Regions from separate parts of the Homo sapiens genome. Here regions 1, 3, 4, 5 and 6 are each linked to region 2. The links are contacts of gene promoters, found by promoter capture Hi-C in blood cells and fetal thymus (Javierre and others, 2016). All regions are on one chromosome and are shown on one strand. Each heading gives the region's core, a stretch centred on a gene start or on the middle of the fragment in contact. The rest is flanking DNA. Distances are from core to core; before and after follow the strand shown. Region 1 has its middle 53 kb from the start of CMAS. Region 2 holds the start of ETNK1 (ethanolamine kinase 1). Region 3 overlaps LDHB (lactate dehydrogenase B). Region 4 overlaps KCNJ8-AS1 (KCNJ8 antisense RNA 1). Region 5 overlaps KCNJ8-AS1 (KCNJ8 antisense RNA 1). Region 6 overlaps CMAS (cytidine monophosphate N-acetylneuraminic acid synthetase).

What was found. Contacts are between HindIII fragments. The CHiCAGO score rates a contact against its expected background, and 5 or more counts as called.
Region 1: a contact is called between a fragment that was not itself captured here and the fragment with the promoter of ETNK1 in region 2, in 1 of 17 cell types (megakaryocytes). The highest score is 5.9, in megakaryocytes.
Region 3: a contact is called between a fragment that was not itself captured here and the fragment with the promoter of ETNK1 in region 2, in 1 of 17 cell types (activated CD4 T cells). The highest score is 5.1, in activated CD4 T cells.
Region 4: a fragment that was not itself captured here is called in contact with the fragment with the promoter of ETNK1 in region 2 in 5 of 17 cell types (activated CD4 T cells, total CD4 T cells, non-activated CD4 T cells and 2 more); the score reaches 16.1 in activated CD4 T cells.
Region 5: a contact is called between a fragment that was not itself captured here and the fragment with the promoter of ETNK1 in region 2, in 3 of 17 cell types (naive CD4 T cells, total CD4 T cells and non-activated CD4 T cells). The highest score is 9.3, in naive CD4 T cells.
Region 6: a fragment that was not itself captured here is called in contact with the fragment with the promoter of ETNK1 in region 2 in 10 of 17 cell types (M0 macrophages, M1 macrophages, non-activated CD4 T cells and 7 more); the score reaches 10.9 in M0 macrophages.

The regions. Positions count from the first base shown.
Region 1 is chr12:22,097,424-22,101,979 of GRCh38, forward strand. No RefSeq gene overlaps it. Among named protein-coding and RNA genes, the nearest start is that of CMAS, 53 kb to the left of the region's middle. RefSeq lists an enhancer at 4,418-4,556. The HindIII fragment of the contact is 1,269 bases long and covers 2,334-3,602 here.
Region 2 is chr12:22,623,370-22,627,468 of GRCh38, forward strand. ETNK1 (ethanolamine kinase 1) reads left to right here and starts at 1,802. Exons shown (of 8, transcript NM_018638.5): 1 at 1,802-2,217. The coding sequence starts at 2,062. ETNK1-DT (ETNK1 divergent transcript) reads right to left here and starts at 1,677. Exons shown (of 4, transcript NR_135030.1): 1 at 1,304-1,677. RefSeq lists enhancers at 1,447-1,516, 2,047-2,216, 2,236-2,925. The HindIII fragment of the contact is 2,136 bases long and covers 1,567-3,702 here.
Region 3 is chr12:21,632,762-21,636,666 of GRCh38, forward strand. It overlaps LDHB (lactate dehydrogenase B), which reads right to left. Exons shown (of 8, transcript NM_002300.8): 8 at 2,581-2,948. The coding sequence ends at 2,781. Among named protein-coding and RNA genes, the nearest start is that of LDHB, 23 kb to the right of the region's middle. The HindIII fragment of the contact is 3,064 bases long and covers 1-3,052 here.
Region 4 is chr12:21,675,753-21,680,111 of GRCh38, forward strand. The region is part of intron 1 of KCNJ8-AS1 (KCNJ8 antisense RNA 1); the gene reads left to right. Among named protein-coding and RNA genes, the nearest start is that of KCNJ8-AS1, 16 kb to the left of the region's middle. The HindIII fragment of the contact is 1,937 bases long and covers 1,151-3,087 here.
Region 5 is chr12:21,695,754-21,700,111 of GRCh38, forward strand. The region is part of intron 1 of KCNJ8-AS1 (KCNJ8 antisense RNA 1); the gene reads left to right. Among named protein-coding and RNA genes, the nearest start is that of KCNJ8-AS1, 36 kb to the left of the region's middle. The HindIII fragment of the contact is 2,001 bases long and covers 1,706-3,706 here.
Region 6 is chr12:22,058,950-22,063,052 of GRCh38, forward strand. It overlaps CMAS (cytidine monophosphate N-acetylneuraminic acid synthetase), which reads left to right. Exons shown (of 8, transcript NM_018686.6): 5 at 1,883-1,977; 6 at 2,332-2,503; 7 at 3,332-3,485. Among named protein-coding and RNA genes, the nearest start is that of CMAS, 15 kb to the left of the region's middle. The HindIII fragment of the contact is 1,555 bases long and covers 800-2,354 here.

The DNA.
Region 1 (4,556 bases), core at 1,718-4,217, 520 kb before region 2:
CATTCAGACTGAGACTATGGGGTTTTCTAGACATAGAATCATGTAGTCTGCAAAAAGGAATAGTTTGACTTTCCCTCTTTCTATTTGGATGTGCTTTATTTCTTTCTCTTGCCTAATTGTTCTGGCCAGGACTTACAATGCTATGTTTAATAACAGTAGTGAGAGAGGGCATCTTGTCTTGTGCCGATTTTCAATGGGAATACTTCCAGCTTTTGCTAACTCAGTATGATGTTGGCTGTAGGTTTGTCATAGATGGCTCTTATTATATTGAGGTATGTTCTTACAATATTTAATTCATTGAGAGGTTTTAAGGGATGTTGAATTTTATCAAAACCCTTTTCTGTATCGAGATAATCATGTGGATTTTGTCTTTAGCTCTGTTTATGTGATGAATCACATTAATTTGCATAGGTTAAACCAACCTTGCATCCCTAGGATAAAGCCTACTTGATCATGGTGGTTTAGGTTTTTGGTGTGCTGCTAGAATCGGTTTGCAAGTATTTTGTTGAGGATTTTTACATCCGTGTTCATTAGGCATATTGGCCTGAAATTTCCTTTTTTTTGTTGGATCTCTGGTAAGTTTTGGTATCAGGGTGATACTGGCCTCACAGAATGAGTTAGGGAGGAATTCTTCCTCCTCAATATTTTGGAATAGTTTTAGTAGGAACAGTACCAGACTTCTTTCTACATCTGGTAGAATTTGGCTGTGGATCTGTCTGGTCCTGGGCTTTTTTGGTTAGTAGGCTGTTTATTACAGATTCAATTTTGGGACTTGTTATTGGTCTGCTCAGGGAATCAACTTCTTCCTGGTTCAGTTTTAGGAGGGTGTATGTGTCCAGGAATTTATAAATCTCTTCTAGGCTTTCTAGTTGGTGTGCATGGAGGTGTTTGTAGCAGTCTCTGATGGTTATTTGTATTTTTGTGGGGTCGTGGTAATATCCCCTTTGTCATTTCTAATTATGTTTATTTGGACCTCCTCTCTTTTCTTCTTTATTAATCTAGCTAGTGGCCAATCTTATTAAATTTTTTCAAAAAGCCTACTCTTGGATTTGATGATCCTTTGAATGTTTTTTTGTGTCTCAATCTCCTTCAGTTCAGCTCCGATTTTCATTATTTCTTCTCTTCTGCTAGTTTTGGGATTGGTTTGTTCTTGCTTCTCTAGTTATTTAGTTGTAATGGTAGGTTGTTAATTTGAGATCTTTCTAACTTTTTGATATGGGCATTCAGTGATATAAATTTCCCTCTTAACGCTGCTTTAGCTGTGTCCCAGAGATTCTGGTATCTTTGTTCTCATTAGTTTCAAAGAATTTCTTGATTTCTCACTTAATTTCATTATTTACCCAAAACTTGTTTAGGAGAAGGTTAATTTCCATGTAATTGCATGGTTTTGAGTGATTTATTTTTAAGTCTTTACTTCTATTTTGTACTGTGGTCTGAGAGTGTGTTTGGTATTATTTCAGTTTCTTTGCATTTGCTGAGGATTGTTTTATGTCCAACTGTGTGGCCAGTTTTAGAATATGTGCCATGTGGTGATGAGAAAAGTGTATATTTTGTTTTTGGGTACAGAGTTCTGTAAAGGTCTATCAGATCCATTGGTCCAATATTGAGTCCAGGTCCTGAAATGTTGTTGTTAATTTTCTGCCTCAATGATCTATCTGATACTGTCAGTGGAGTAAGGAAGTTTTCCACTATTATTGTGTGGAAGTCTAAGTCTCTTTGTAGGCCTCTAAGAACTTGCTTTTTGAATCTGAGTGCTCCTGTATTGGGTGCATATATATTTAGGATAGTTAAGTCTTCTTGTTGAATTGAACCCTTTATGATTACGTAATGCCCTTCTTTGTCTGTTTTGATTTTTGTTGGTTTAAAGTCTGTTTTGCCTGAAATTAAGATTACAACTCATGCTTTTTGCTGGTTTCCATTTGCTTGGTATATTTTCCTCTATCCCTTTATTTTGAGCCTATGGGTGTCATCGTGTATGAGATGGGTCTCTTGAAGACAGCATATCTGGGTTTTGCTTTATTATCCAGCTGACCATTCTGAGCCTTTTAAATGGGGCATTTAGCCTGTTTACCTTCAAGGTTAGTACTGATATGTGTGAATTTGATCTTGTCATTGTGTTGTTATCTGGTTATTGTGCCAGCTTGTTTGTGTGGTTGCTGTATAGTGTCATTGGTCTGTGTCCTTAAGTGTGTTTTTCTATTGGCTGGTAATGGTCTTTCTTTTCCATATTTAGTGCTCCTTTCAAGATCTCTTCTTAGACACATCTGGTGGCAATGAACTCCCTCAGCATTTGCTTATCTGAAAAGGTTCTTCTTTCTTTTTTACTTAGAAGAAGCTTAGTTTGGCTGGATATAATATGCTTGGTTGAAGATTATTTTTTCCTTAAGAATGTTGAATATAGGCCCCCAATCTCTACTGGCTTGTAGTGTTTCTGCTGAGAGGTCTGCTGTTAGCCTGATGGGGTTCCCTTTGTAGGTGACATGCTCTTTCTCTCTAGCTGCCTTTAACATTTTTTCATTTCAACCTTGGAAAATCTGACTGTGTTTTTTGGGGATGATCTTCTTGTATAGAATCTTGCAAGGCTCTCTGTATTTCCAGAATTTGACTCTCAGCCTCTATAGTGAGGTTGGGGACATTTTCATGGATGATATCCTGAAATATGTTTTCCATGTTGTCTGCTTCCTCCCCATCCCTTTTCAGGATGCCAATCATTTTTATATTTGGCATGTTTACATAATCCCACATTTCTTGGAGGTTTATTAATTCCTTTTTATTTTCTTTTAATTTTTGCCTGACTGTCCTATTTCAGAGAACCAGTCTTCAAGTTCTGAGATTCTGGCCGGGCGCGGTGGCTCACGCCTGTAATCCCAGCACTTTGGGAGGCCGAGGCGGGTGGATCATGAGGTCAGGAGATCGAGACCATCCTGGCTAACAAGGTGAAACCCCGTCTCTACTAAAAATACAAAAAATTAGCCGGGCGCGGTGGCGGGTGCCTGTAGTCCCAGCTACTCGGGAGGCTGAGGCAGGAGAATGGCGTGAACCCGGGAAGTGGAGCTTGCAGTGAGCCGAGATTGCGCCACTGCAGTCCGCAGTCCGGCCTGGGCGACAGAGCGAGACTCCGTCTCAAAAAAAAAAAAAAAAAAAAAAAAGTTCTGAGATTCTTTCCTCAGCTTGGTGTATTCTGCTGTTAACACTTGCAACTGCATTGTGAAATTCTTGTAGTGTGTTTTTCAGCTCTGTCAGATCAGTTAGGTTCTTTTTTATGCTGGCTATTTTGTCTGTCAGCTCCTGTATAGTTTTATTGTGGTTCTTATTTTCCTTGGATTGGGGTTTGCCATCCTCCTGAATTTTAATTTTAATTATCTTTGTTTTTCCTATATTCTGAATTCTATTTTTGTCATTTCAGCCAGATCAGTCTGGTTAAGAATCCTTGTTGGAAAATTAGTGTGGTCATTTGGAGGACATATGGCACTCTGGCCATTGAGTTACTGGAGTTCTTGTATTGCCTTCTTTCTCATCTCTGCATGTGGGTGTTCCTTTAACTGCAGCGTAGATTGAGTATAGTCAATAGACTTCTTTTCTGGATGTTTTCACAGGGCTGAAGCTTTGTGCAGGGTTTTTATTTGTGGCTAACTTCTTGTCTTTGGTTTTACAGGGGAGTATGTTACCTAGACATTTTTGGTGTTGAAGCTTTGGGGTATGATCCAGTAGGTGGCGCTTAGGCATAGTGGTCAGTTGGTAGGCTCTTGCTCAGTTGTGTGGTTCCCCTGTATTTCCTCACAGTTGCAGCCATGTTCCCTCTCAATGCTCTGAAATCAAGGGCCCCTCTTCCACTTGAGCGCTGGCTGTAAATTGCGGCTTGGCACTCCCAGGCTGTCCACCAGAGCTCTGGGGTGAACTCAAGGTTTATGTTTCCTCCCCAACTTAGAGGCAGCAGAGGAAGGAACCTTAGCAGTGGTTGTAGCCGATGGTCTTTTATTTGTATCCTAGGGGCTCCACCCCAGAGAAATGCAGGTCAGCAATCGCTCAGTGCAATCAGCCTAGGATGGGTCTGTGCTGTGGGCCCAAGCCTGGAGTTCCCTTTCCTGCACTCCATCTTTCTTGTAGGTGGAACCCCCAGGGGCAACCAAAGCCTCTCTGCCACTGCTTCTGCCTTTGTTACTCTGAGAGTGGCAGGGGTAATACCACTGCAGAGGCAGTGGCAGAGAGGCTTTTGGTTGCCCCTGGGGGTTCCACCTCTGTGAAGCAGAGCTGCTCTTATTGGGAGTGTTCAGCCAGTGGGGAGGGGCAGGTGCAGTGCTGGCACATGAGCTTGGGGCTCTGCTTGTTTGGCAGCAGGGGGTCAATGGTTCACTGGGAGGAGAGACTGGTTTCCTCTCCATATGACTGTGGCATGCTGTAAGCTCAGATGTAGCCCTCAGGTTCTTTGTTTCTTCTTCAGACTGAGGGCAGCAGGGATAGAACCAGTGACGAAGGGGCTGTAACATGTCTCTACAAGCCTCTCCTCAGGCCACTACCAGTGGATATGTTCAGCCATGGGTGGAGTGGCTGTTCTG
Region 2 (4,099 bases), core at 552-3,051:
ATATGTACTGATTAGTTCAGGGAAAATTGAGGCCTTTACATTAATCTTTTCTCATTTATGAATATGGTTCATTTCTCCATTAATTTTATCCATGGATCCTGTACATTTTCGGTTACTTTTGTTCTCAGGTACCTAATAGTTTTTTTTTCTTTTCTTCTACTTGTTAATGGACTCTTATTTACCATTACAAACTAGTGCAGTTTGCAACATAATTTTCAATTAAATTGTTTTACAGTTACATAGTTTTAAAATTCTTAAAATGTCAACTGCTTAATAAAAAATACAATTTATACAAAAATACAAGAGATACTATCTGAAATGTGAAAGTAGTAGTATATTTATGATTTCTCCCCAAAGTGGAAGGAACACACACTCTAATGTTTCTTGTAGAAAATTATGCCTAAATCTGGCAGGGCGCGGTGGCTCACGCCTGTAATCCCAGCACTTTGCGAGGCCGAGGTGGGTGGATCACCTGAGGTCAGGAGTTCGAGACCAGCCTGGCCAACATGGTGAAACCCATCTCTACTAAAGATACAAAAATTTGCTGGGCGTGGTGGCACGCGCCGGTAATCCCAGCTACTCGAGAGGCTGAAGCAGGAGAATCCCTTAAACCCGGGAGGCGGAGGTTGCAGTGGGCCAAGATCGCGCCATTGCACTCCAGCCTGGGCGACAGAGTGAGGCTCCGTCTCAAAAACAAAACAAAAAAAAACAGAAACAAAAAACAAACAAAAAAACCACTAAATTTGAAAAATGTTAAATCAACTTCTTTGCTGTATTATAAAGCTCCATTTCCACCCCTCTTTTTAGTTTAGGAAGTTTACCGTTATCGGTGAAGTAATTATTTTGTTAATTACAAAGGTAAGTAGGTTCTTTCTGAACAATCAGGATGTAAACTTAATGCTAGTGAAGTAATTAAACATTTTGAATGTTAATTAAACTCAGTCCAGTTAAGGGTTTTATTTACTACTAACAAACGTATTCACCGTGTGCTAAGTGCTGCAGGGAATCCCAGCCCGTTTTCCTCCATCTAAAAGGAAAATTAGGAGGTCCCAATACTTTACTTGTAGATTTTCCAGTTTCTACCATTCCCTGTAAGGCACTGAGACGCAAGATTTCAAGGCCCACTCGGGGTACCCTGGCATGGACATCGAGTCGTTCTAGCGCTGAGCTTCAAAACTATTCCTTTCCTTCCCTTTCTTCTTCATACCAGACTCTAATCTGTTCTCCCTAGCTTCGAATTATTCACTGTATGGTCGAACATCTTACTCCACAAATAACCTCTGAAGTGTTGCAGTTGTCTTACCCAAATACCTGAACTCAGCTTGTCCCGAGTACTGCGATCCCGCGTACTGCTAATGGGAATATAGTTAACCCAACTAGTATGAGGTCCCCAGTACACAGCAGCTCCAAGATCAAGGCGACCGAGTAACACTGCTTGCCTAGACTCAGGCCAAGTTCGGAGAGTGATCCTGGGGTTATTTTAGAACGTGTCCCTTGCTTCCCAGAAAAATTCAGTCGTTAACTCAAGTCCAGATGCCCAATGACCATTCGGATAAGGTGAGCTAAAGCTTCAATGCCTTGAGGGGCTTGGCAGGGCTCGGGCTCATCCCGGAGAAGCAGCCCCGCTTTCCAGACTAGCAGTTCCCAGGGATGGGTGTGTGCTAATCGCAGGCCAACAAGCCCAGCGCGGTACAGAGGTCCCATTGTGACCGGAGGCGAGAAACCCCGCCTCGGCACCCTGACGCAGCGCAGGACCCGCCCCGCGCGTGACGCCAGCGTCAGGCCAGCCCCGGCATGCTCTGCGGCCGCCCGCGGTCCAGCTCCGACAACAGGAATTTTCTCCGAGAGCGGGCCGGGCTCAGTTCAGCTGCTGTCCAGACCCGGATCGGCAACAGTGCCGCCTCCAGACGTTCTCCTGCCGCTCGCCCGCCCGTCCCAGCGCCCCCAGCCCTCCCGCGAGGGCGCCCCGGGACGGAAGGATCCACCAGTCTGTCGGCGCCCGCCGTTCTCGTGGTCGCCGTCGCCGTCGTCGTGGTGGTAGTCTCCGCCGTCGCCTGGGCCATGGCCAATTACATCCACGTCCCTCCCGGCTCCCCGGAGGTGCCCAAGCTGAACGTCACCGTTCAGGATCAGGAGGAGCATCGCTGCCGGGAGGGGGCCCTGAGCCTCCTGCAACACCTGCGGCCTCACTGGGACCCCCAGGAGGTGACCCTGCAGGTAACGCCCACACCTCAGCTCTGGGTCTCTTATGCCCCTCACGCGGCTCTGGGGGTCCTCACCACAATCGCCTCTGTCCCACGATGACCGAGGAGGACCTAGGGCAACATCTCCTTAAGTCTATTGGGAAGTGACCCTGTATTTCCCCTCACACCTAGGAGGGTCACTCCCCCTTCCCGTCGCAGTTGCTCTTTGAGATTGACCTGAGGCACATTTTCTCTTTCTAGAAGCCGCTGCGTAAGTGACGGACCCATCCACGGGGGGAGATTCCTGCTGATAGTTGCCCCTCCTCCCACTCCCCAGTCCACGGTCACTGCAAAATGAACCTTTCCACTCCCCTTGCACGGGGTCCTCGTCTACCTCCTCCCCTCCCACCAGTAATGCAGTCATTAATCCTCTCTGATCTTTCCTTCCTCTCCCCTCCCCCTGCGATGTGCTTTCATTGATGCCTCACACTGCGTTTTGTCTTCCCAAACCCTAGCGTACTCAATTCCCAAAGTAATGACCACGACCATGCATCGCTAGGTCGGTTCTTAGGCAGCACCACACACATTGTTTTGTTTGAGTCGATATTTCTGAATTATTAAAGTCGTCTTACTGAAATTAATACCTGATACTAGAAGGAGCAGTGGCTTGTGACTGTTTCCTTTTCATGAGACACCGTGTTGATAGAGAAAAAATTGGGAGGAAAAAAATCCCTGAGACTCTAGGAGTTTTCTAATAAGTTGGAAGTTATGATTTCCACTACGTGATTTTTTTTGAATACTAATCTGTTTTTAGCTTTAGTTTCAGGAACTAGATACAAAAATAGATCTCTTTTTCTCCTTTTCCCTTGCAAACAAAAAAAAACAGTAATTTTCAAGATTGGGATATTTGGGATTTGTTCTAAATCTGAGCAATAATGTAAGAACATTCATTTGAATTAGCCAAATCATCTGCCTCGTTTTGATGACTAATTTATTCACCAATATTTGTTGATTTATTTGCTAAATTCTTCGCTAAACTAGCCAGCCACCCACACAAAGATGAATAAAACATGAGCAGTGCCTAGGGCCCAGAACAGTTCCTGACACTTGGGTTTTCATGTGTTAGTTTCAGTTCTTATTACCTAGAAGAGTTTTTAAGCAGATTATTTTAAAGGACCCGTATGTTTTGGAGAAGAAACTTGTTAGACAACAAATTTTGAAATTTAAGGGAGTATTTGTTAGCCGAGAATATAGGAAATAGTGAATCCAAAGTGATTTTTATGTCATTTAAAAAATATATTTCCTTTAAAGGAAATGTGTCTTCCAAATTGAAATTCAGTACTTGTTTAGTTTATCAATTTGTTTGTATTTTATTATATAAGACTCTAAAATTTATTAAGATGATTTGTTTTCTGGCAGTCACTTATACATAAAACATTATTAATTAAAAAGTGCTACTTCCTGGTAAACTCTAGTGTTGGCAGATCAGTTACTTTTAAGCAGTGACTTTAAAGTTTAAAGCTTTGAAGACTGGAATTTCCTTTGATGTATTTGTCTGTAGAATAGTAATAATAGCTACTGTGGGGTTAGTTAAATTATTTTTTTTTTATCTTAGTCGCCCGAACAACCATATTAGGTAGGCACTATCATTTTAGGTGAAACTCAGTGAAGTAAGCCAGGATGTAGGTAAAAAAGGGCAAAATGTAGTGACATTAAACTGTTTTTGCTTGTTGGAAAGTAACTACGTGTGTTTAAATCTTGGTTTCTTGTAGCAACTTTTAACCTAAAGACCTTTGGGTTTATAATCCGAATTTTTAATATTTGTAAGTGCAGGTAAATACTACCATTTATTTTTCCCTAAGATGATTATTAGTTAGAAATACATTCCCTCCATGTGCAAGCAAAGCTTTGGTCTA
Region 3 (3,905 bases), core at 271-2,770, 990 kb before region 2:
AGTTGCACCACTAAATTCCACCTTTCTTTGTTTTAGCCACTTTGCAGGAATACTCAGCAATAGATCCACAAAAGTACTTGGGTATCAATTTCTCTTCTGTAAAATAACTTGGACAAAAGTCACTTCCGCTTCTAAAATCATATGAGATCAAAGTACCTTCATGGATAAACTATCAGTGTCTGTCTCATTCAGTACATCGTTTTTGCATTTTGGATATTGACCCATGGAATATCTGGATCCATGTATTGACTAGCCAGGTGTTACTAGGCGTCTGCTCTATTCCTAAGGAATGTTATTAATTCCATTTTTCACGTTTCCCCAGACGGTAAGAAAATACAAGTGTTCCAACTGAATGTGTGAGGATTCAAGTCTTTTTTTTCTTGATTTTATAGCATCTTATTTTGTTATTTATCGTTCAAGTACATGCCCTCAATTAGATAAAAAGTTATCTAACAGGTACTGTGCCATATAGTTGGGAGTATATCATTTAGAATTAATTGGTTAGCTGAGACAGATACCTAAAATAACAGTGATAGCAGTTTATTTCCTCCTAATATAAAAAGCAATTAGGAGGCAGGCAGTCAATAGCTGGTACAGGCAGCTGCATGCAAACTGAAAGCCCAGCCTTCTTCCAGCTCTTGGCTCTGCCATCCCAAGGTTCTGCATTTCTGTCCATGGTCCAAGATAGCTGATACATTTGAGACTGTGGTCTTCCCATTATTTTGGCATTAAAATGTCTTTTCTTTTGTATGATAGTAGAAAATGGTAGTTTTTTCTCCATGTGCTTATTTGGCAAAATGAAAAGTTGGCAAAGTTGTGTTTGTGCTTCTTAACCTACACACGTCTATTCCCCCTTTTAAACAGTTTAAATAATTCTAAACTGATCCATGAAATTCAAGGTTGGAAACTATTGGCTTATTGCAAATTCAACATTCACGTAGAAACTGAAACAATGAAATAGAAGCATATATTAAATTAACCCTCCTCCTTACATCTAGACAGTAACTTTGGAAATATGATATAAAAAAGGAATTTAATAACTGTATCCATCTCCCATTCTGTAATATAGAAATAATAGCACCCTCATAATATGCTGGAGCATTAAAAAATTTCAATATTATTCTAAGAAGATACAAAAATTTGACAGTAAGTTTTTCTGCATTATAGTACACTGTGCTTAAGAGAAAGGATTTTTTTCCCCCCAAGACGGGGTCTCGCTCTGTTGCCAGGCTGGAGTGCAATGGTGCAATCTCAGCTCACTGCAACCTTTGTCTCCTGGGTTCGAGAGATTCTCCTTAGCCTCCCGAGTAGCTGGGACTACAGGGGCATGCCCCCACGCCCAGCTCATTTTTGTAATTCTATTAGAGATGGGGTTTCACATGTTGGCCAGGATGGTCTCGATCTCTTGACCTCTTGATCCACCCACCTCTGCCTCCCAAAGTGCTGGGATTACAGGCATGAGCCACTGCGCCCAGCAAAGAGAAAGGATTTTAAAGCTAATTGCCTAGGTTGAATCCTGATTCTGTTATTTGGTGGCTATTACCTGTGTGCCTCTTTATGTCTCAGTTTCCTCATCTGTAAAATGAGGATACATACTTTAGAGCAGTGGTTCTCAATCAAGGGTGATTCTCCTCACCCCTTCCCAGGGGATATTTGGCAAGGTCTGCAGACATGTTTGGCTACACCTTGTCGGCAGCGGTGTGTGACTGGCATTGGTTGGGTAGATGCTGCTAAACAGCCTACAATGCGCAGTTCAGCCCCCACTACATAGAAACATTCAACCCAAAAGGTCAATAGTGTTGAGGTGAAGAAACACTACCTTATAGGATAGTTGGGATGATTTAGCTAAGTTAACATCTATGAAGCACTTGGAACAGTAAGCACTACTTAAATGTTAGCTACCATGATGACCAAGCTATGTGCTAAGAGTTTTACATAATTTTCTCATTTAAACAACCCATATTGAAGAGGTGTTGTTATCATCACTGTTTTATAGGTGAGGAAAATGAGAATTAGGAGTGATTAAGTAGTTAACTTGACTAAGATCACAGTTAATCAACGATAAGGCCAGCACTCAAGTCCAGGTTTATATGACACCAAAACTCATGTTTTAAACACTACCTAAATTGACCCCTACATATGACATGTAAATTTGGAACTCTTTGTTAAAGGAAGTCTACCTAAGTTTCCCTGTAAATTCACATGTTATGCTATCTCCAAGTAGACTCAATCTGAATAATCCAGACCAAACTTTCATTTTCCTTCATTATTAAATAGAATTCTAACAAAGTTTCCATTTTAGGGGTTCTTCCTTTTAAAACGGGCTTCCTTTGTAAATGTCATATACATTGACATCCGTTACAACTTCTTCAGTTATAACCTTAAAAAGATAATCATATTCTCAGGACAACAACAACAAACCGTGGCACCTGTTGCAAAAAAGAATTTTTGTCTCATCCAGAGGGAGGAGTGTAGATGATGTTGGAATTTAGGGACATTTATGACGTGTGGTAAGAATGACTTGGCAGACTGACTGAAATCTTTCAGGAATCATTAAGGAAGGAATCCCAGAAACAGAAGCACACTACAATAGTTAATTTTATTTGTTCAAGAGCTCAGATTGCAAGCATTAAACCAAGCATAGGCTTTGATTCTGTGAGCCCAAATTCACATATTGAAGAAGATCAAAGCAAACTGTGATCCATGTACATGGATGAAAACTAAAGGCTCGAGTTAATCACATTGTAGTTTTTAAATTTCTACAGCCTAGAGCTCACTAGTCACAGGTCTTTTAGGTCCTTCTGGATGTCCCACAGGGTATCTGCACTTTTCTTGAGCTGAGCAACCTCATCATCCTTTAGCTTCTGGTTGATAACGCTGGTTAATCCCCGGGCATTGAGGATACATGGAAGGCTCAGGAAGACTTCATTCTCAATGCCATACATCCCCTGCCAGAACAACAAAGCATCGAGATTAAGACATGAAACTGTAAGTAAAAATGATCAAAGACAGGAGGCTGAGGTGGGAGGACTGTTTGAGCCCAGGAGTTTGAAGCTTCAGTGAGCTATGACAGCGGTACTACTCTCCAGCCTGGGTGACAGAGCAAGAACTAATCTCTAAAGGGGGGAAAAAAGAGAATAATCAAAGGTCCGATGTTCCAACAGAAAGAATTGTAGAAAACTTGATAGGCCTGAACTCATTCCCTAATCTAATTTTCATCACTTACAGGTCCACATTTCCCCAATACTTATGTTTTGAATTAGGTTTTATACATAGAATATGCAAACATACACTATGAGAAAATTAGATATTTGTAAGTAACAAGTACTTATTTAATTTTATTATATACGTATTTTATTGAACACTGCTCTATTTAAATACACTTTAATAAATTTTGATATATGAGTCTTCAAATTAAATTGCTTTTAATTGTGGTTCTTAATGGATTACTTTCTATGAAATTTTAAGTTGCTTAAAGACTTTTAGTTAGGAAGAAATTTCAGGTGGTAGCCAACTTATGAGGTCCTGGGTAATAGTTAGAGACCATTAAAAGGCAAGATGCTTGGAATACCCAAGAATTGCTAAAAAAAAAAAAAAAAATACAATTTCCAAAACACTTTACCAGTTCGTGTGGGTAATTTATTCACAGGGTCAATTTAACTATATAACTAATTATATTAAACATACCTTAATGTCAGTTTTTAAACTTTTAATTTCAAAAATTTTGTACATACACAAAAGTAGATAGAATAAACAAATTCCTATGTATGTACCCAAAGACTCAGTAATTACCCAATTATTGACACACTTGATTTACACTGACTTGTGGAAAATGAGTCAGTTGTCTTACAAAATATTTTAATATAATTTTAGTTTTGTTTAAAAAATCATTAATTTCTACCTGT
Region 4 (4,359 bases), core at 869-3,368, 950 kb before region 2:
TGATGCATTCCTGACCTCTCTTCCTAGACCCAAGTTTGAACAGGTTAGAAAATACATGTTTACAAGGCTTTCAAAATCTTCCTAAGTGTAAGTGGATGATTCACATCAGGGCAACCTGAGACTGATCTCTCCACTTTGAATGTTCCACCAGCCATGTGGAAGAAAGATCATCTTAGGGCATGCCTGCAGACTTACAATTTCACAGAAATTCGAACCTGTAAAAGGACAGTACCATTCCCTATTATATTCCCACATTCCTAGCACACAGTAATCGTCAATAGGTATTTGATGGATACTTTTTTTTTTCATCTCACTGAACTACTGATACTTTCTCTTTTCAGTATTCACAATACTGGCCTTTTTAGTGCATATCAGTGTAATTTAAAGAGTAGAGTGTAAAATTTTCTCTTCCTTTGATTTTGAAAATCTACTGCTATTAAATCTGCCGTTAGGGTGACCCTAACTTAGACTTCCTGGGTTTGGTTATTAGCTCTTCTTGCATCTGTCCTAAATATTGGTGGTTCCTAGGATTTAGTGTGATGCCAGCATCTCACCCACAGTCTATGGTGCTTGAGCTATTACACCATTCCAGTGGCATCAACAGTTTGTTACCCTTGATGGCTACCACCTGACCTTTTCTCCTGAGTCTCAGACCTCTATTTTAGCTATCTTCTGGATACATTTGCCTGGAATCCTTACAGGCACCTTAGACTCAGCCTGTCTCTGAAGAAGCACCTCTACATGCTATTTCTTCCTTATGGCAGCTGTCAAATATTGAGAAATATTTCTCTGAATGTATGTCTTAAAATGTAACAAAAGATGTCATTTATTTTTTAATATGCCTAGACTCTGTGTGAAAGGTTAATGAATACTACAAATGGTTGCTTCTGGGGAGGAAGAAAGGTTACTTTGTGTTGTTTATCTTTTGATATCTTTTAAATTTTATGCCACAGACAGGTACACTTCTTTATACAACGATAATAGTGTAATGAAAAGGAAAGGGAAATATTTATCATAAAAATTCACATACCAAAAACTGACCACTTGAGAACTCACCTATAAGGGAACTGGCCCATTTCCTTTCAAAGTATACTTTGCTGAAAGTGAGACAGAAGATAATTTATTCATGAGTACTTGCTCCTTTTAAACAAGCTTGTTCAAAGGCTGTGGTATTGTTTCAAGTTCTCTTGAACACAAAGTCAAGGGTTGTGAACTTTAAGCCACCTGAATTTAAATACTGAGTGCATGTATCACACGCATATGTGCACTGTTATTCATTCAAAAACATTTCTCAGTGCCAGGCACTGAGTTAAGATCTGAGGACACAGAATTAAATAACTCAGAGTTCCTGTACTCAAATCGCTCACAGTTTAGAGGCCCTATTGATACGGAAGGCCAGCAGGGAAGTGCTAGGTAGAGGAGGGCTATGGTCCCCGGCTAGGGTTCCGTTCCCGGCTAGGGTTCCATCCCCAGGCCTGCGCCCACAGACCTAGGTGAGGACAGGCATTTATGTTTTCCTGCCCAAATGTTGCATTTCCCAAGACCACCCTGGCCGGCCACGTCCCCATCCTGTGCCTATAAAACCCCCTGAGACCCTACCAGGCAGAGACACAAGCAGCTGGACGTCAAGAGGAGCACACTGGCGGAGGAACACACAAGCAGCTGGACGTCGAGAGCACATCGACAGGCACCAGCAGGCCATCGACAGGTGGAACAACGTGGGGTTTGGACGGGGTGGTCAGAGGAGAGCCCGGCTGCTGAGTGACCTGACTCCAACAGGAAAACCATCTTCCTACTCTGTCTCCCTTCTGGCTCCCCCATCTGCTGAGAGCTACTTCCACTCAATAAAACCTTGCATTCATTCTCCAAGCCCACGTGAGATCCAATTCTTCGGGTACACCAAGGCAAGAAACCCCAGGGTACAGAAAGCCTTCTGTCCTTGAGATAAGGCAGGGAGTCTAATTGAGCTAACGCAGGCTGCCTACAGATGGCTAAAATAAAAGAGCACCTGAAAAAGTGAGCCACACCCCCATCTCATGCCCTGCATGGGGGACAAGGGAACTTTTCCGGTTTCAACATGAAATGATGTGTTATTGTGCAGGCGATATCTGGGGCATCTGGCCTTGCTGTGAACAGAAAGGGTTTAGGCAGCCAGGTGAGGCTTTCTGAAAGACAGGGTCTGTGCTCTTAAGGTGGAGCTGAATTAGGAGAGAGAGGAGGTGAGCAGGAGCAAAAACACTGAGATCTGGAATGCCGAACTGTAAACTAGGGAGAGGAGCAATTTGGAGTTGTCAGAGCTTGTGTGAGGTAGCTAATGATGACTTTAGATGCGTCATCTTCCTAACTGAATTCAAGAACTCTGGCTGTGTGTGTGTGGTGGGTGTGTGTGTTATGTGTTTAAACCAGGGAATGTCTTATGTGCCTAATATTTTTATTTCCTGAAGAGTTTTAGTTTAACTTTTGCACTGCCTAAAGTCATGTCAATTGATGTAAGTCTTTCTAACCTTTGAGTAAACCCATAAAACCTCTGAATTTTATATAAAATTGTGCGTATATGCATGTGGACATTTTCCCAGGGTGAGAGTCCAGATAGCCTCATCAGTGGTTTCCCAAAAAGGATCTCTCTCTCTCTCTTTCTTTCTTTCTCTTTCCCTCTCTCTCTTTCTTGCTTTCTTTCTCTCTCTCACACACACACATGTGCGTGTGCACACAAACTCAAGACATGGACACTTCATTAGTTATAAACTTTTAAAATACAGATAACTCTGGAAGGATTAAAAAAACCTCTTATTTATTCCAGCCATTCCCAAACATTGAGCATTCCACTGCCAATGCATGAGAAACACTTTACCCATCTGAAGGGTAATACATTTACCAGCTGAATACATTTCTGGTGGCTTCATATTGGTTGATTATTCCAGGACGCATAGACTACACTATTTTTATACCTAGTAGCTATTGTACAAATTCATATAAACCCTTGGATTAAAGGTGTTTAGGATATAGAGCTATATCATTCCATGGAATCCTTCTGTCATTTTTACTGAGCCACAAAGTCCTCCCAGAAGCTGGGGAGTTTACTGTGTAAGCTTTCCTCATCTATGTGTGGGCTGTATAAACACAGCCTGTTAGCATGTATTTGAAAGTAAGTAGGTAATCTTGGGGGAAAACTATACTGCATAAATTGGGTTAGAAATGTATTTCCTTTCTTCCTAAACCACACTTAGTTTCTTTCAATGCTGTTTTTTTAAAGTCCTTTTAGTTTGTTTGAAAAATAAGTTACAGAACTATTTCTAACAGAAGATTGATTTTTTCTGCCTGTCACGATGTACCTACAAGGAAAGGGAAATGAGAATGTGTGTGAGACACAAACACATTATCTGAGCAATGATAAGCATAGTCATTTCCTAAATTAACTGACAGTTATGTTCTTCCTTTCCCCAGCTAGTTAATTATGTCAGAGCATTTCAAGTTTATTATGACTCTGGCAATGAAACTGACAGGAAGAAAATAATACAATGGATGAGTTTAATTCTGAGAGATACCATACAGAAAAGAAAACATAATGGACTTTGTCTTAATGAACTGACAACTTTCTCTTCTTTGGTAAAATCTTCCTTCTTGCTTACCTATACTTATGACACATGTTCAACTGAAAATTGCAAGATAAACATATACAACATGTACATTATGGGAAAATTGATTTTATACATTCCAAGAAAATACACAGTTGCAAAAGAAGAACACAGAAGCAGTCAAGGAATGATGCCTAGGGAATGTTTCGTAAAAAGTATTTTGAAGCAAGGTGTGTACATGGATTGAAAAAGAGTAAAGCAAGAAATTTTTTTAAATGGGAGAATGAGTGTAATGGATGGAAGTGGGAACAACAGTGATGATCACAGAAGGTATATGGTTTGCTAAACAGGACTGAGGGATGAGTGTTGCAGAGCAGAGAGAAATGCTGAATGTGGAATAGTTTGCAAGAGGTTTTAACTGTTAGGAAAATGTGGCAAACTGTTCTGTTTGTTTCTAGGCCAAGCATATAATGTAAGCCTTTTGAACGATTCCTGTGCATTGTCAACAGAGCCTGACCCTGTATTTCACATATTTTCTAGATATTTAAGAAACAATACAAAATAACAGCCATTTGAATACTGCTCTGAGGCTTAGGCCACAAAATTCCAGGGAAGGAACTGATATTTGGAACAACATCAAAGACCTTACACAATTTCCAAAGTAAGATTAACTAAATTTACTGTAATTTATTGAAACCACTGTTCCATATCTGCAAGTTAAAGTGAACCTCAAATTAAACAATTATAAGAAAAAGGTAATGTTTTAGCTCTTGAAACTTTCCAA
Region 5 (4,358 bases), core at 1,456-3,955, 930 kb before region 2:
GAACTGAATCTTATTTATATCAAGTAGCTGGTGGTAAAATTGGTTTTGTTATATGTCGTTTTGTTTAAACTTTTGTTTAACAAGCAATAGGTTCAAAGAACCTATTTAAGATATAAAGTGAGGAATTAATGTGTGTGTGTGTGTATATATATATATTTTGTAAAATCACTGCCTTTTTAAAGGGTAATTTGGGAACATTTTTATCATTCCTCGGAACGAAGGATAAACATTCCTTTCCTTAAAAATAACATTGGAACATCATTTTCCAGAAATATAAGAATTCTCTCACAGTGGTTGCTATTTTACTTTTCAATGACTTGCCAAAACTAGAAAGCAGAACATATAAAATTTCATCTGGAAATGATTTCTGGGACTTATGTGGTTTTTGTGCTGCTATTCTTTTTTGTGTGTTTTTATGTTAGGAAAAGTCATAGAAGAAGCCAAATTTGGTGTAGGAGCTGAATTAGTTACTGTGATTTACTAGAGATGGACAGGGACTGTGGCAGTCTTTGGCAGGCCTCGAGGAGCAAACTGACAAAGCTGTCATTTTCACATTTAGAATTTTCCATGTGTTCACTGCCAGCCTAGAAACCCCAGGAGCGTGGTGTCCCCTACATTTTCCAATATGTGAAGATGTTCTACCCAGATCTCTCATATGATTGATTCTACAGCCCATATAGAGTCTTGCCCTGTTATTCTAGAGTCACCATTCAGAGTCATCCAATATTCTGAAGAGCTCTTTTCCTTTCATAAAGGCCTTTTCATATCGCTGAAAACAGTTAATCATCAATCTGCATTGAATATCCAGTATATAAAAGAGACTGAAATAATAAACGCCAACTTTTATTGAGTGCTTAACATGTCACAGGCATGATGCTAGTTAAGCTCTTTTCATGGATTATCTCACCTAATTTTCAAAAAGGTTTATTAGTATTTCAAAGGGGCAAAACTGAAGATCTGAAGCCTAGTACTTTTGCAATACTGTAAAGTTGCTAGTGGTAGAATGCTTTCTGATTTTGAAATCCACACTGTTAACCAAGAGACCACTTCATTAGCTAATGAGGGTTCTCTGGAGTTGCTAAAGGAAATGTCATTCATACTTTCTTGAGAGGAATGGATCATATTGCACAGGAAAGGGATGTAAGAACATATATGTATTGTTCTTACATCATATATGTGTGTGTACTAAAGCCCTGTTAGAATGATGAGCAAGGAAGGAATGAGTTTAACCTTTAAATTAGACTGACCTTGCTTCAAAACTTGGTTTCTCCACTCACTCCCAGTGCAGACTTAGATGAGTTATTCATTGCTCTGAGCCAAGTTTTCTCCACGCTTAAATAGGAATAATAATTCTCCAAAGTTTTTTTGAGAATTTGGAAATACTAATATGTGCATAAAATGATTGAAACAGTGTCTGACATATAGAAAGCAAACCCTAAAAAGTAATATATAGATAACCTTTGAGGCATTTTCAAGTCAGTGAATTTTTACGTTTGGCAAGGACCTGGGTAGTTGAAGAGGATAATATGATAGGCAATACAAGTGAAAATAAAAGAAAGCATAAAGACTTGAAAGCAGAAACAAACAAATGGTGTGTGTGTGTGTGCAACGTAAGAAAGTTTGATTTCCTATATAGAGAGTTTAGTATGCTGTGTAATGTGAGATCACATTGCTTAGTGTGTGATAGAAGCTTGGGTGTAATAGAAGCTTAGATATGATGGGAGCTGCTGTGGAATCCCCCTGCAGAGTCAAAGTCTGTCATGTTGAAACTCCACACTGTCAAAAGCAATGGTATCTTGAAGTTTGTCTGATTTAATTATGTTGACAACTTCCTAGGAAAGACACCTTCAGAGCCTGATAGAGGCAAGCAGGTGATGAGATGTCCGTTTTGTATGCTGTGCCCACCACATAGCATGATTGTAAATACTTAGTTCTCTTGAAATAACAACTGTGAAGGAGGAGTGCCATGGGGAGGTGAAACGGATGCAATGATCATTTAACTTTTTCTATGGTTCTTGGGCCTGAAAAGTAGGAACACCTCTATGTTCCTGGAAATTGAGAAAAAAAAAATGTGAATCAGAAGAGATCATATATTCCGTATTGCGACTACTCTGAGTCATATCAGTAACACAAACATTTGATAATCATTTCTTAATTAAACTTCTGAACATTTTTTGACATTTTATAAAACAATGCTTTTCCCAAACTAATTCTATTTTGAGCTATCAGAATGTATATCCTGTTTTCTTGCATTTTCACCACCAGATGGCAGTGATAACCTATTCATTCATTTCTTTCTCTTTTTTTTTTTTTTTTAATCGTTCTCTTGTTTAATGTTATTCTAGAAATGAACCAGTAGCTCTAAATTAAAAGTGATGGCCAAAAATTCCCACTTTATTTTCTACGACAAGTCAGCATGCTAGAGTCACAGTTCCCTTGTGCAAAGAAGTGAACAAAACGTGCATGGAGGGAAGCACAGGAAATATCGTGATTTTGTGTGAGAGCTGGAATGCCACTAAGTAATAAATGACTCTGGTAAATTGTAAAAGACTACCTTGGGTTGTGTATATTAAAAGTATATAAATTTCCGTGTGTGTTTGTGTCAGAGAGAGAGAGGTCTTTGGGTTTGGGGTAGAGGTTGTATAAATGTGACTTCAAAATGTCGCCTGTCATAGGCTACCCTTGTCACATTCTAGGGTTAACCCTGTTAAGGGTGAAAAAGTGAAGTTATCAAAAAATGAAGTGGGCCCTTACACAGCACAGATGTACATGACCTCGGTCTTTACTCCACTTAATCACCACTTCCTTACTCAGTTTGTCTTAATATTGCTTATTTCATTTTTCAGATATTTTCTGCAAGAATAGTTTTCTTGTTTAACTATCCTGGATTTACAAATACATGTTTCAGCTTGGAAAACAAAATTTTTTGTTTAACTTTTTGTATTTCGTAGCAATAGCAATGAAAATCTTCTAAAGATTGGGGGAAAAACCTATAATTTTTTTGGACACACTTCTTTAAACTTTGCTTGATGAGGCTGTTTTTAAATGAAACATTCACATGCAAAATTCAAGAGACCGGGAAAAATAGTCTGAAATTGATAAAGTTGTTTGTCCATTGTATTTTTAGTCAGGATTATCTGGACCATTTTTTAACATCTTGGAGTCGTCAGTTGATCTGGTTTTAGTTTCAGCTGAAAAGGACAATTTTCTGTTCTCCTTCAGTTAACCAAGACGTGGTCACAGACCAGGCAACACAGGTTTTGTCAGTGAGATACCATGGAAAGGAAAAGAGGCCTTATAATTATAATCAATAGGTCTGGGTTTGATGGTGTACTTTCAAAGACCACACATATGGCTGTGGGCATGTTTTTATCATGATCTATAAAATGGGGATAATAACGCCTATATGGGGTTCATTGAGATAAAGTCTATGATCTTTTGGCATGCACGCAATAGTCAATAGAGAGTTTTCTTTCTCTCTCAGTTTACCCCCTGGATAAAAGTAGGTTGATTCTGGCTTAAGTTACAAAGAGGAAAAGCTGTGTCTTCCACATTTGTTTCTTCCAGAAGTTTACTCCATAACCATCCACTTCCATGCCTTTCTTTGGTCTGGAATTTTCCTGATGATAAGCTAATGGGGAAAATAATTTTTTATTCTTATGCTTTTTGCAGCCTTTTAAAACACATAATATGCATCTAGAAGTTAAGCTTCTTTACTTAATTGAATAAGAAACAACATTACAAATGAATGCAACATAGTGAAGATTAAATAAGGTAATTAACAGGTCGGTGCTTTGAAACGTTTATTCTGTTATAGGATTGGAAGGATGTAAGAGCATGCTTTAATATAGAAGGTTTCTAAAAGCCTATGTCTTAAAGGGGCCTCTAAGATCCATCTCCACTAAAGAGCTTCCAACTCTGATATATATTTCTGATATATATTTCTGAGCAGATATGGTAATTGGCCTTTATGTTCTGGAATGACACAGATTTCCAAAGGCAGGCAACATTCAGTCTTTCCTACAGTTTCGGCATTGACTGATTGATATTTTATTTTCAAATAGCTTTATACTTTATTTTTGAAATAGAGGATAATGTTCCTATGGAATCTTGGCATCCTGAAGGAATAACTTGTGTTTTAAAAATTTGCTTGGGGACATTGTGGTGTTTAGGAACTCAAAAACCACATGGCACTTTGACAAACCTGTGCAATCAAACCATATTTGTTCAATGAAAGCTTTGGGTTGCCTTATTCTAGAATGTTGAATGCTCAATAGCTTCCTGACTTTGATGTGGTGAAGTTGGAGAATTTTTCATGTGGGGAGTAGTAATCACTTTCTATCTTGCAATGGTGGTAC
Region 6 (4,103 bases), core at 327-2,826, 560 kb before region 2:
GGGTGTCTACACATGTCCTGGTACTCATATTATTCCACTCAAAACTACGTAATCCATGTTTGTGTTATAGTTATATTGTGGCTGTAGGGTTGAATAACTTCTATTGCTTTAAAAAGACAAATAATTTCATAGAGGTGAAAAGAGTTACAACCTGGGTGTCAGGAAACCCGGAATCTTTTTATATATATATATATATATATTTTTTTTTTTTTTTATTATACTTTAAGTCAACTGCCTCTTACTATGTAAGCTTGAATATGTATCATTTTATCTGTCCTGACTCTCATTTTCAAATAACAGATTTAATGTCTCTCTCATTTTAGAGCCTGCAACATGGTTGCATCATATATTTCTTAACTTGTTAATTTTAGTTATCATTATTATTTATTATTTACTGTGTACTTCGGAGTAGGTGAAACACTTTGCATATGTTATCTTATGTAATCTGCATAGCGAATGAATGAAGTGGACATTTCTACCCAGTTTTACAGAGGAGGAAAACTGCCTCACTGAAATATGAAGTAATTGACTCAAGGCAAAAACAGCTAATAAATGGTACTGTCAGGATTTGGATTCAGGTTCTTATGTTACTCAAGAAATAGCGGTTTTAAAGAGAGAGAGAGAAACCTCTCCATTGTGTAATAAAAATTCTAATGGGACTATTATTCTGAGCAAAAGAGAGAAAAACATTTTTACAAATCTTCTGGTCAATGTGTAGGCAAACTATAGACTAGCTGTTTAGTTAAATTTAAGTGTTCAGAAAAATTGGATTTGACACACATAGATACTACCATTTTTAAGCTTTTTTCTAAGGAGGACCATGATTAACCCATTCCTAAAGTGTGGAGAAAAATGTTTCTCATTAAAACAAGGTTTATGAAGAGACTGACAATTCTGAAAAAAAAAATGAAATTGAAATTGTCCAGTAATTGATCTTGTCATTCAAATAATTACTATCAGAAGAAAGACCCTTTCTCTTGCTGACCCTTGCCTAGAATCAAGAGACTGCCCTTGCCTTTGCCTGCATGTGACTTGGATGACTATTAGTCATTTTCATCAGTAGCTCAGAGATCTAAGAAAACTCTGTACAACAGATGCTACAGTTATTTTTCCTCCCCTGTGTTGCCTGTTAGTTGCAAATTAGAACAGAAGTTCCAAAAACCTTAATACTGCTTTTGGATGATGACAGGAGAGACTTCTTGAAAAAAAGGAGGATATGATTAAGGGATTTCCACAAAATCCCTTGTGGTCAGAAACCTGGAGGATGTAATATTTCTGCTTTTTTCAATATTAAAATAGAAATTTTCTTAAATAGGGAACTTGAACTGTTTAGATAGAATTTGAAAAATGTTAAGGTTATTTCTTTTGTGTGAGCTTTCTCCTTAAAAAAAAAAAAAAAAAAAAAAAAAAAGCTGGGCGTGGTGGCTGAAGCATGTCATCCCAGCACTTTGAGAGGCCAGCTTGAGGCCTCAAGAGGATAGCTTGAGGCCAGGTTTCCAAGACCAGCCTTGGCAACATAGCAAGATCTTATATCTACAAAAAACTTTTTAAAAATTTAGCCGGACATGGTGCTGTATACCTGTAGTACCAGATCCTTAGGAGGCTGAGGTGGGAGGATTGCTTGAGCCTAAGATTTCAAGGTTATAATGAGCTATGATTGCACCATTGCACTCCAGCCTGGGAGGCAGAGTGAAACCCTGACTCGAAAAAATAAAAAAGTAAAAATAAATTTAAAAATCATTTTTATGTGACTGATTTTTACTGGGTTATTCATTTTTCTCAGTACTGTAGAAATGAATTCATTGTTCTGTATTATAATAAAGTTTTGATATATGTGAATGAATATTAAAAACAGTATTCATGACATTTATACTACCTTTAGGGTGGAAAAATGGCATACTACGAAATGCGAGCTGAACATAGTGTGGATATAGATGTGGATATTGATTGGCCTATTGCAGAGCAAAGAGTATTAAGGTAAAAACAAATAAACCTTTATAACCTTTGTACTAAATCTTAATAATTATATTTCTAGATACTGATTTCTGATACTTCAGACATCTTAGGATCTTTGTAATTACTTTGTTCATGTGAGGAAGACATGTAAAATATGTGTTTACATGGCTTCAATAAAGTGAGAAACATTATCTGGCTAGACCACACTACTTTTACTTACTGTACTATATGTTAAAATATATATGTGAAGTAAATTTGGAGAGTAATGTTTGAATAATTGAATGGAGGGTGACATTTCATGTATTGGTTTAGCCAGATGAGAGGGAGTGATTAGTACTGCACTTGTACTCAAAGGTCTATTTTGGTTTCTTTTAGATATGGCTATTTTGGCAAAGAGAAGCTTAAGGAAATAAAACTTTTGGTTTGCAATATTGATGGATGTCTCACCAATGGCCACATTTATGTATCAGGAGACCAAAAAGAAATAATATCTTATGATGTAAAAGATGCTATTGGGATAAGTTTATTAAAGAAAAGTGGTATTGAGGTATGTGCTCCCTGAATATAGCAGTATTTTATAATATTTTGATTCAGGGTCAAAGAACATGCAAGGAATTAAGAGATTTAAATTTTTAGTATTAACTCTTAAAATATCTGAAATTTGGCCTTCATACGCCTAGAAAATTATTATACTATTTAGTTTTAGATGAGTAGAATTAGGAATTTGTTAATCAGCAAATAATATTTCTTGTTTATTCAGTAAATATAAACATAACTACTTTTAAATGGGAGCTATCTAATGTTTCCCAAAGGATCTTGCAGCAAGAAAGATTCCCTAGATAATAGGTGTACCATTTTAGAAAAGGACGATATCCTGTGGATTTTTAAAATCTAGCTTATTCTTATGAATGACATTTTTGATTCAAAATAACTTAACGTTTAAGTGTATTTTTTTAAATGAAAGCTAGCTAAGATAATTATAATTTACCAGAAATCCTAAATATGTATTGCTAAGCAGCACAAGAGAGAGGTTATAGACTTTCCTCTGGATAAATTGAATTATAGGAGAATCTTAGAGTAGTATCAGACAATATATGTTGTAATTTTTACCTGTAGATAGAATCCTTTCTATTGTAGAAAATAAAATACTGTGTCTCACCTTTATTGGGCTATGAGAAATAAAATGAGCTTTGTTTTAAAGCATCATGATTTTAATTCGACAGTCAGTTTTCTTACTTGGACCTTCAGAAAGTCAAAAGATGACTCGTTTGTGATTTGGACTGTCTACAAGGTCAATTATTATGAAAGATTTCTGTTTTCTTCACTTTTTAATTTTTCCCTTCTTCCTCCAATCCTTTTTTTTTTTTTTTTTAAGGTGAGGCTAATCTCAGAAAGGGCCTGTTCAAAGCAGACGCTGTCTTCTTTAAAACTGGATTGCAAAATGGAAGTCAGTGTATCAGACAAGCTAGCAGTTGTAGATGAATGGAGAAAAGAAATGGGCCTGTGCTGGAAAGAAGTGGCATATCTTGGTTGGTATCTTTTTATTCACCCATAGTAAAATGGACCAGGAATTAATTATTTACTTATTTTTAAAGAAATGACAAAGCACATCCTCCAAATGGGTATGATTGTAGGGAAATAGGAACTCTTTTAACAAACACTGCTGATCAAACTGTTAAACTGGGACAGTCTTTCTGGAGGTTAGTTTGATAATAGGTATCAAATGTAGAATGATTATTAGCACAAGCTGTGAAGTCAGACTGTACCACTGATTAGCCAGTTGTGATAAGATGAATGTTGTTTCCTCATCTGTAAACTGGAGATATCGAGAGTACCTATTACCGTAGGGCTCTGGAAGGGATTAATAAAATAATATGAGTAAAGCACTTAGCAGAATTTCTAGTACATATGAATTACACTCTGAATAGTTTTTGCTGCTAATTGAATGTACATACTTTTTCCTCCAAATTCCAATTCCAGGAAAGAAATGAGACAAATGGGCCAATAGTGAAGTTAAAAGAACCCACTTAAATGTCCTGTGAAAAATAGAATATCCCTAAAAAGGATTACTATGCAACCATTACAAACAGTGCTGTGACCTGTATTTATTTGCATGATCAAATATAACAATGTTTTTCACTTGGATA